Linked DNA regions of Homo sapiens: all the other regions are linked to region 1. The links are contacts of gene promoters, found by promoter capture Hi-C in blood cells and fetal thymus (Javierre and others, 2016). All regions are on one chromosome and are shown on one strand. The core of a region is centred on a gene start or on the middle of the fragment in contact, and the rest is flanking DNA. Distances in the headings are between cores, read along the strand shown.

Evidence for each region. Contacts are between HindIII fragments. The CHiCAGO score rates a contact against its expected background, and 5 or more counts as called.
Region 2: a fragment that was not itself captured here is called in contact with the fragment with the promoter of PILRB in region 1 in 2 of 17 cell types (total B cells and total CD8 T cells); the score reaches 7.3 in total B cells.
Region 3: a fragment that was not itself captured here is called in contact with the fragment with the promoter of PILRB in region 1 in 1 of 17 cell types (total B cells); the score reaches 5.1 in total B cells.

The regions. Positions count from the first base shown.
Region 1 is chr7:100,356,504-100,359,530 of GRCh38, reverse strand. PILRB (paired immunoglobin like type 2 receptor beta) reads right to left here and starts at 1,414. Exons shown (of 4, transcript NM_178238.4): 1 at 1,165-1,414; 2 at 452-841; 3 at 1-194. The coding sequence starts at 1,228. It overlaps STAG3L5P-PVRIG2P-PILRB (STAG3L5P-PVRIG2P-PILRB readthrough), which reads right to left. Exons shown (of 17, transcript NR_036570.1): 13 at 2,648-2,781; 14 at 1,165-1,311; 15 at 452-632; 16 at 1-194. MIR6840 (microRNA 6840) reads right to left here and starts at 2,880; the gene lies at 2,810-2,880. The HindIII fragment of the contact is 11,655 bases long and covers 1-3,027 here.
Region 2 is chr7:100,114,394-100,117,420 of GRCh38, reverse strand. All of the region lies in intron 1 of TAF6 (TATA-box binding protein associated factor 6), which reads left to right. Among named protein-coding and RNA genes, the nearest start is that of TAF6, 3.5 kb to the left of the region's middle. The HindIII fragment of the contact is 3,542 bases long and covers 1-3,027 here.
Region 3 is chr7:100,187,573-100,190,599 of GRCh38, reverse strand. It overlaps STAG3 (STAG3 cohesin complex component), which reads right to left. Exons shown (of 34, transcript NM_001282717.2): 6 at 2,071-2,147; 7 at 1,584-1,788; 8 at 1,004-1,155. It also overlaps the pseudogene LOC102724025. Among named protein-coding and RNA genes, the nearest start is that of STAG3, 11 kb to the right of the region's middle. RefSeq lists an enhancer at 231-390. The HindIII fragment of the contact is 2,848 bases long and covers 113-2,960 here.

The sequences.
Region 1 (3,027 bases), core at 165-2,664:
TCTCCTCCACCACAGGAGGAGGAGGCACAGCAGTCCCAAAATGACAGTTTTGAGCACAGCGACAGCCAATGCAACCCTGATGGCAGTGTCCAGACTTAGGTGCCATGATTCTGAGTGCCCTTTGCTTTCTGTGACCCTGAGGCCGGCTATGGTGGTTGTGCTGCTGGGCCTCCAGGTGGTGGTGGTTGTGACAGCTGGAAGAGATGAGGAATGAGCAGACCCTCTTCTGGGGGTGTGGGGCGTCTGGATGAAAGGCATGGTGTGCTGCTTTCTAGATTGGGGACATTCAGGATGAGCAAGCTGCTCTCAGAAGCCCAGACATGGAAGGGGTAGCAAGGTGAAATGCTAACAGCTCTCAATCCAGACCACTGGGTTTAAATGTGAAGACATCAGTGGTCACCAAAACCCTCACTGCGGTGGGCAAGGCAGGTGTCAGGGCAGCTGGACTCACCCTGGGTGATGGTGAGTTTGGTCCCCTTGATGGACTGCAACTGCTGCCTCCCTGATCTCCGGGTGTCCAGCTCGACTCGGCAGAAATACACAGACTGGTCCTCCTTCCGCAGGTTTGAGATCCTGAGGAAGCCGCTCTCCTGACCCTCTGTCCAGTTCAGAAAGAGCCGGTTCACATAATCCTTGTGAATGGAAGGCGGCCTTGTGCTGTAGAAGGACTGCCCGTGGAAGTGGCCCCGTCTCCAGGATATTCTCACGTTGGGAACTATGGCTAACTCCCAGGGGTAATAGAAGGAGAAGGGGATTTCCACAGAGCCACCCATGGAGGCTGAGAGGTGTTTTGGTTGAGTGACCCCATAAAGGTAGCTTGGACCAGATCCTGTGGAGCCACCTAGAGGAAGGAGGGAGTGAGTGGGGGAGAGACCTTGAAACCACCTCAGGACACAAAGAGGGTGACCCCAGACCCTCCCACACCTTCACCCACAGGCAGTCGTGTGACAGGTGGCTGGACTGACCTCTGGCCTGGGTCTCCCACTCTTCAGGCATGGGGGAGGGTGGAGGGGGAAGAGATGGCGGCACCCACCCCTATGGGACCCGCCCTTGTTTGCTGGAGGTGGGAGCCTGGCCCCTGCCCCAGATGTTCTGCCTTTGTCTTGGGTTGGCCCCTCCTGTGGTTTGGGCAGAGACCATACCTGGGCGGTCCTGGGTACTCACCAGGCTGCAGAAATGCTGGCGGCTGCAGCAGGAGCAGCAGGGGCAGCAGCAGGGGCCGACCCATGGCCTTGTTCTTCTCCAGGGGACGGGGAGACCAGCAGAGCTGTCCAGGCAGGAGAGGGGCCCTGTGGAGGGGCTGCCTGAGGGCTGAGGTGAGTGGGGAGAGCCAGGGTGAGGCTCCCCAGAGGGCTGTGGGGGCCGGGGACCTTCCCCAAACCAGTACACCTCCAGGGTGACCAGCACTTCCTTTATCCATCTGGCTTCTTATTGCAAAAGGGCCTTAGGTGCCTTTTTATCCCTTGCCTAATTGCTCCGGCCAGGACTTCAAATCCTTTTTTTTTTTTTTTTTTTAGTAGAGATGGGGTTTTGCCATGTTGGCCAGGGTGGTCTCACACTCATAGGCTCAAGTAATCTGCCCGCCTCAGCCTCCAAAAGTGCTGGGATTACAGGCGTGAGCCACTGTGCCCGGCCTGACTTCAAATCCTGTGTTGAATAGAAGTAGTGAGAGCGGGCATCCTTCTCTTGTTCCTGATCTTGGAGGCAAAGATTTCAGTCTTTCATCTAAAATGACTGAAAGACTTTCAGCCATGGGCCTTGCATGACTGGCCTTTATTTTGTTGCAGTACATTCCTTCTCTTCCTGGTTTGTGGAGTGTTTTACCAGGAAAGGGTGTTCAGGCTGGGCACAGTGGCTCAAGTCACACAAAAGTGTCAAGTCAGCCCTGCCCAAGGGCCCCAGTGCCCATCTTCCTGCTGAGGGGCTGGGCCTCACCTTGGCTGGCTGGGCCCCTCCCACCTGGATCCCTGCAGACCCCACCGCACTCAGCCTCACTTCTCATCCCTTTCTCTGTCCAAGGCCAGCGCAGGCTCTTTCAGGGAGAGGAAAGGCGGGCCTGAGTCTGTGCTCTGCTGCACCCCAGATTCAGTCCTCAGAGAGGAGAAGGAGGAAGCCAGTGGAGGTCACAGGCGCTCAGCCCCCAGCCCAAGCACCAGAGCCCCCAGCTTGTCCTCTGTCCCTCTCCCTCCCTGGCAGGGGCTCCCATGCAGTCCCCAGGCACCACCACAGCCCAGCTGGCCTCTTCCCACCCCAGGCCTGCTCCCTTGGTGCAGGGACCACAGTCTTGCTCAAGGGGTGAGGGGGCTGACGGTCCCCTACACAGAGACTGGTCCCTCTCGAGGCCACCCCTTGACCCCCAGACATGAGACTGGATCTGCAGGGTCCCCTCTGACCTCCCTGCCCTACACAGGAGGGGACAGAGCTTGGAGAAGCCCTGTCCCAGGCCACATGACTTGCAGGGCAGTCCCAGGACTGGAGCCCCCTCTACCTGGATCTCTGGGCCTCAACTTCTGAGTTGCAGGAACTCAGGCATAGGGGAGCCCCAGGAGGTTGTTCCCTCATACAGCCCCTCAGGTCATTCCCTCCACACACCTGAGCCTATGGCTGAACCAGGAAGGTTCCTTGGTGCCAGGGCAGCTGGACTCACCCTGGGTGATGGTGAGGTGGGTCCCCTTGATGGACTGCCACGACAGCCTCCCTGATCTGTATGTCCAGCTGGACTTGGCAGAAGTACACAGACTGGTCCTCCTTCCGCAGGTTCGAGATCCTGAGGAAGCCTCCCTGAGGAAGTGAAGGCTCAGAGCAACAGTGGGCACCCCGCACAAAGTCCTGGGCCCGTCTCTAACAGGGGATCTGCAGGTCTTTGCCCGGGGGTGGTCACTGGAGCTTTGGTGACCCACAGGGCTCCCTCCATAGGAGGCTCTGCCCATCCTCTCCAGAGTAAGGTGGCATCAGCTGAGGGGCCGTGGGGACAGGAAGGCAGGATTTCACCAGAGGAAGTGATAACAATCTTCTTGAGACAGAAGC
Region 2 (3,027 bases), core at 217-2,716, 240 kb after region 1:
GCATGCCTGTAATCCCAGCTACGCAGGAGGCTGAGACAGGAGAATTGCTTGAATCTGGGAGGCGGAGGTTGCAGTGAGCCAAGATCGCGCCATTGCTCTCCAGCCTGGACAACAAGAGTGAAACTCTAGCTCAAAAAAAAAAAAAAAAAAAAAGAGCCCTGTCTAGATGGTGGACGGAGACGGGGTCTCACTCTGTTGCCAGGCTGGAGTGCAGTGGCACAACCTCTACTCACTGCAACCTCCACCTCCTGGGTTCAAGCAATTCTCCTGCCTCAGCCTCCCGAGTATCTGGGACTACAGGTGCACATCACCACGCCCAGCTAATTTTTGTATTTTTAGTAGAGATGGGGTTTAACCATGTTGGCCAGGATGGTCTCGATCTCTTGACCTCGTGATCTGCCCACCTCGGCCTCCCAAAGTGTTGGGATTACAGGCGTGAGCCACTGCGCCATGCCCAAAAGATGTTAAATGCTATGGAAAAGAAAAAGTGGGCTGCCCCCACTCTGAGGGCAGAGTGCAGAGTTAAATAGGGTGGTCAGGGTAGGCAGCCAATTAGATATTTGGGAAGAACATTCCAGGCAGAGGGAATGCAGCAAAGGCTATTAAGCAAGTACATACCTGGCAAGTTTAAGGAGCAGCCAGAAGGAATGTATGTGTCTGGATCAAAGTGGAAGAAGGAAGGGCGTTCAGAGATATAATGGGGAGAAGGTAATTTTGAAGGGCTTTGTAGGACATTATAAGGATTTCGTCTGTTTTTTTTGTTGTTGTTGTTGTTGTTTTTGAGAAGAAGTCTTGCTTTGTTGCCCAGGCTGGAGTGCAATGACACAGATCTTTGCTCACTGCAACCTCCGCCTCCCGGGTTCGAGTGATTCTTCTGCCTCAGCCTCCCGAGTAGCTGTGATTACAGGTGCCCGCCACCATGCCCATCTAATTTTTTTATTTTTAGTAGAGATAGGGTTTCACCATGTTGGCCAGGCTGGTCTTGAACTCCTGCCCTCAAGTGATCCGCCCACCTTCGTCTCCCAAAGTGCTAGGATTACAGGCGTGAGCCACTGTGCCTGGCCTGAGATGGGGTTTTGCTATGTTGCCCAGGGTGGTCAGGAATTCCTAAGCCCAAGCAGTCTTCCCACCTCACCCTCCCAAAGTGCACAGATTACAGGCATGAGCTGAGCCACTGCACCTGCCCATTATAAGGATTTCAGGTTTTACTTTATGGCAAGTGGAGAGCCATTATGAGGGTTTGAGCAAAGAAATGACAATCTGCTTTACAGTTTGACAGAAGCATTTTGGCTGCAACGTTAGGAATAGATGTAGAGAAAGGCAAGGGTAGACTCCGGTTGACATTGTTAGGAGGTTTTTGGAGTTACCCAGTGGATAGATGATGGTGACCTGGGCCAAGCAGTGGGAGCAGAGGAGTCAGGTTGGACTACCTGGTGGATTGATTGATTTTTGAGACAGAGTCTCGCTCTGTCGCCAGGCTGGAGTCCAGTGGCACGATCTTGGCTCACTGCAACCTCCACTTCCCAGGTTCAAGTGATTCTCTTGCCTCAGCCTCCCGAGTAGCTGGGACTACAGGTGCGTGCCACCACGCCAAGCTAGTTTTTGTATTTTTAGTAGAGATGGGATTTCACCATGTTGGCCAGGATGGTCTCCATCTCTTGACCTGGTGATCCGTCCGCCTCGGCCTCCCAAAGTGCTGGGATTACAGGTGTGAGCCAACGCGCCCGACCGGATTTATTTTTTTACCTTTTTTTTTTTTTTGAGACAGAGTCCATCTGTCACTGAGGCTGGAGTGCAATGGCGCAATCTCAACTCACTGCAAACTCTACTGCCGAGGCTCAAGTGATTCTCCTGCCTCAGCCTCCCAAGTAGCTGGGATTACAGGCACGCGCCACCATGCCCAGCTAATTTTTGTATTTTTAGTAGAGAAAGGGTTTTACCATGTTGCTCAGGCTGGTCTCGAACTCCTGACCTGAAGTGATCCACCCACCTTGGCCTCCCAAATTGCTGGAATTACAGACGTGAGCCACCGCACCTGGCCTACCTGGTGGATTTGATGTGAAGGCTCAGATAAAGAACAAGTGTCTGGATGGATGGCATTGCTATGAAGATAAGGAAAGCTGAGCCTGGGCCAGACACTTCGGCTCACGCCTTTAATTCCAACACTTTGAGAGGCCAACGCTGGAGGATTGCTTGAGCCCAAAACTTCAAAGTGGTGGGATTGAAGCCCTGAGGTGTAACAGAAAAAGATAAAAATCTGGGCTGGGCCTGGTGGCTCAGGCCTGTAATTCCAACACTTTGGGAGGCCGAAGCAGGAGGACTGCGTGAGCCCAGCAGTTCAAGACCAGCCTGGACAACATAGTGAGACTCTGTCTCTGCCCCTGCCCCTGCAAAAAATTGGCTGTGTGTAGTGGTACACACCTATAGTCCCAGCTACTTGGGAGGCTGAGGTGTGAGGATTGCTTGAGCCTAGGAGCTCCTGGGCTCTATCAGTTTTCCCACCTCTGCCTCCTGAGTAGCTAGAACAACAGCCCTGTGCCTGCATACCCAGCTAATTTTTGTATTTTTTGTACAGATGGGGTCTCACTGTGTTGTCCAGGCTGGTCGTGAACTGCTGGGCTCAAGCGATCCTCCTACCTTGGGCTCCCAGAGTGTTGGAATTACAGGCATGAGCCACTAGGCCCAGTCCAGATTTTTTTTTTTTTTTTCCTGAGACGGAGTCACCCTGGCTGGAGTGCAGTGGCGTGATCTCGGCTCACTGCAACCTCTGCCCTCTGGTTTCAAGTGATTCTCGTGCCTTAGTCTCCCTAGTAGCTGGGATTACAGGTGTGCACTACCACGCCCTGCTAATTTTTGTATTTTTAGTAGAGATGGGGTTTCTCCATGTTGGCCAGGCTGGTCTCGAATTCCTGACCTCAAGTGATCCGCCCGCCTCGTCCTCCCAAAGTGCTGGTGGGATTACAGGCGTGAGCCACTGAACCTGGCCCCAGCCCAGATTTGTATCTTTCTCTGTTACACCTCAGGGCT
Region 3 (3,027 bases), core at 287-2,786, 170 kb after region 1:
ATAATGATAATTGATTAAGCAAGAGCCCAGAGAAGCCAAAAAAGAAAAAGAAAAGAAAAGATTCGCACTAGTGTACATAATTTAAAATCCGGGATAGATTAATATTCAAGCTTTTAAGATCAACCTGACAATGCAAAATAACAAAAGAGAATAAGGGAAGTGGAAAGTTTCCTTCTCTAGTGATTTAGAATGGAAGAGATCTTTTGTGAGGGCTAGAGAAACAGCCAAATGATATGGTCAGACATGGTGAGTCCTGCCAACCTCATAGGAGGGGTCTTAGACACTAACAGAGAGTGAGGAGAAAACACCAGTAGTGTTACTCTTATGACAGACCCAGCTGATTAAAGATTTCATCAGCGTAAAAGATTTTGCTATGGCTTATGCCCCCCAGTGGTCATCTTTAAGTTTAAAAGGAAACAAAACAAGTATCTACTATGAGCCAAGCGAGGCAATTTACTCATCTCATTTATTCTTCACAAAAAGGTGAGATTATTCCTTTTTTTAAAGAAAAGAAAACTGAAGAGAGGTTACATAAGGCTATGGAGCTAGTGACTAAATTCAACAGAATTTAAAGCGAGTTCACTGGGAGGCCTGTTTTCTTTCCATTCCTTGAAAATTTGGCCTCCCTTGTCAATGGTTGGCTTTTAGTACTCCTGCACTCACTTGCACACTGCACACTTGACAAGTAGGTCAAAACTTAATTCCCTGCATGACAGGCAGGTACAGCACTTAAACACTCCTAACAATGAGTGCTGACAAAAAAAAAAAAACTGAGCAAAAGTGGAATTAGAGAGAACTCTAAATTACACATTATTTGTTGAGCCCACAACCCAGAAACAAGATGAGCATGTAATGACCCCTTACAGGATGGGTCTATGAAACTATTGCCAGACTCCATTATTCATGATCTTGAAAGACTGCCCAGGGCCTGATAAGGGGGTCTGTGGCAGAAGTGGGTGCAAGTTGGGAAAAAGGGAAGGAAGAAGCAGGGAACACTCCTCACCTCTTTGCGTTTCTCCAACAGGCTCTCCAGCCGCTCAGGTGCCCTCTGCCCTGGCCCCTTGTTTCTTTCAGCCTCATACTGACGCTGATTGTTATCTTGGTGCACACTCAGTTGGAGGGCAACTTTTACCAGGGAGGTCATCAGTTTCATAGCTTTGAGAAAGGAAAAAGAGATAAAGAAATCATTACTGAGGTCAGAGGAGAGAGGATGAGTAGAAGGAAAAAATAGAAGGAAAGAAGGGCAATGAAAATGAGACGTCAGAGCAGGATGACCCTAAAATCCTAAGACGGCCTGTCCTGGAGTGGACTGTTTCCCTCGAACCCTTGTGGTCTTCTTTTAACCATCAGCATACCCCTAGTGGTGAGCTCTGACAAAAATATTAAACCTGGAAATTGTTGCTGTGATCTACCCCTTCTCAAAACTCCACTAGTGAGAAACTGGATTGAAGTTTAGGATAAAAGAGGCATGGCCTTGAAGTGAAGAGCCAAGATGCAGGTAGGAAAGAAGATCCTGAATCAGAGAACAGAGGAAAGTCCTATAAATCCCCAGGAGAATGTCCAGAGTAAAAATGAATGCTCACCAGCCAGGGTGCTAGTGTGACGGAAGGCGCGGACTTGTGAGTCTGAGAGGCCAGTGAGCAGGGAGATGAGGTCGTCCATAGGGAAGCCATCATAGAGGAGGCTGTACTGGCACTGACAGACCAATGTCCTCACAAATTCACAGAAGCTGCCCTGGAACTTCTTCCAGGATGGACCTGGAGCTATGAGAGGGTAGTCCCCCGAGTCCTACAAAAGGATGTATGAAAAGGATGGGAAAGTTATTACCAGGTCCATGAAGTCATAGGGGCTTGGATGTCAAAACTCAACAGTCCAGTAAAAATATCTGTTATACCTCATTTCCTGGTATTCTCCCCAATTTGAGAGGCATATTCAGATCTCTTTTACCCCCAAGAGACTGAATTCCTCCTTCTAAAAGCTACCCTATTTCACAGAATCAAAAAGAAGGGGATAATAGGCATTGTGTTTTGAAATAAGAGGGGTAAGAGGATCCTGGTCATCTTCTTCCACCTCATTAAACTGCTCTGTTAGGTGCTGGATGATCTCTGAGTTGGACATCTTCTTGAACATCTCAGGGGTCACAATGCCTAAAGAATGAAGGATATGAGGTGCTTACAAGGAAAATAACAGGATGCTTTGATCATTTACAGATATACCTGAAGATGAGCAAGGAAACATTCTGCAAAGAGCTTAGGTGGGGAATGAGAAGACCCCCTGGTCAACAGTCTGCCAACATCCAACCATGTATCTGCTATAAGGCAATCTCTCTAAAAACCCAAAGGAAGGGAGCCACAGGTTATGGTGTAGACATGGCCAAATCCAAGAACCACACCTCACACAACCAGGCTGAAAACTGCACAGAAATGGCATCAAGAAACCCCAATCACAAAGATACAAATCTCTTAAGCGGATGGACCCAAATTCCTGAGGAATATGTGCTTTGCCAAGAAGCACAACAAGAACGGCCTAAAGAAGATGCAGGCCAGCCGGGTGCAGTCGGTCATGCCTGTAATCCCAGCACTTTGGGAGGCCAAGGTGGGTGAATCACAAGGTCAGGAATTCGAGACCAGCCTGGCCAACATGGTGAAACCCCGTCTCTACTAAAAATGCAAAAAATGAGCTGGGCATAGTGGCGGGTGCCTGTAATCCCAGCTACTCGGGAGGCTGAGGCAGGAGAATCGCTTGAACCTGGGAGGCGGAGGTTGCAGTAAGCTGAGATCGCACTACTGCACTCCAGCCTGGGCAACAAGTGAGACTGTCTCAAAAAAAAAAAAAAAAAAGATGATGCAGGGCAACAATGCCAGGGCCATAGGGCCATGAGTGCACATGCTGAGGCTATCAAGTCCCTCATAAAGCCCAAGGAGGTTAAGCCGACTTGCCTACACTGCCCACCCCAAGCTTGAGAAGCATGCTTGTGCCCACAATGCCAAGGGGCTCAGGCTGTGCCAGCCAAAGGCCAAGGATCAA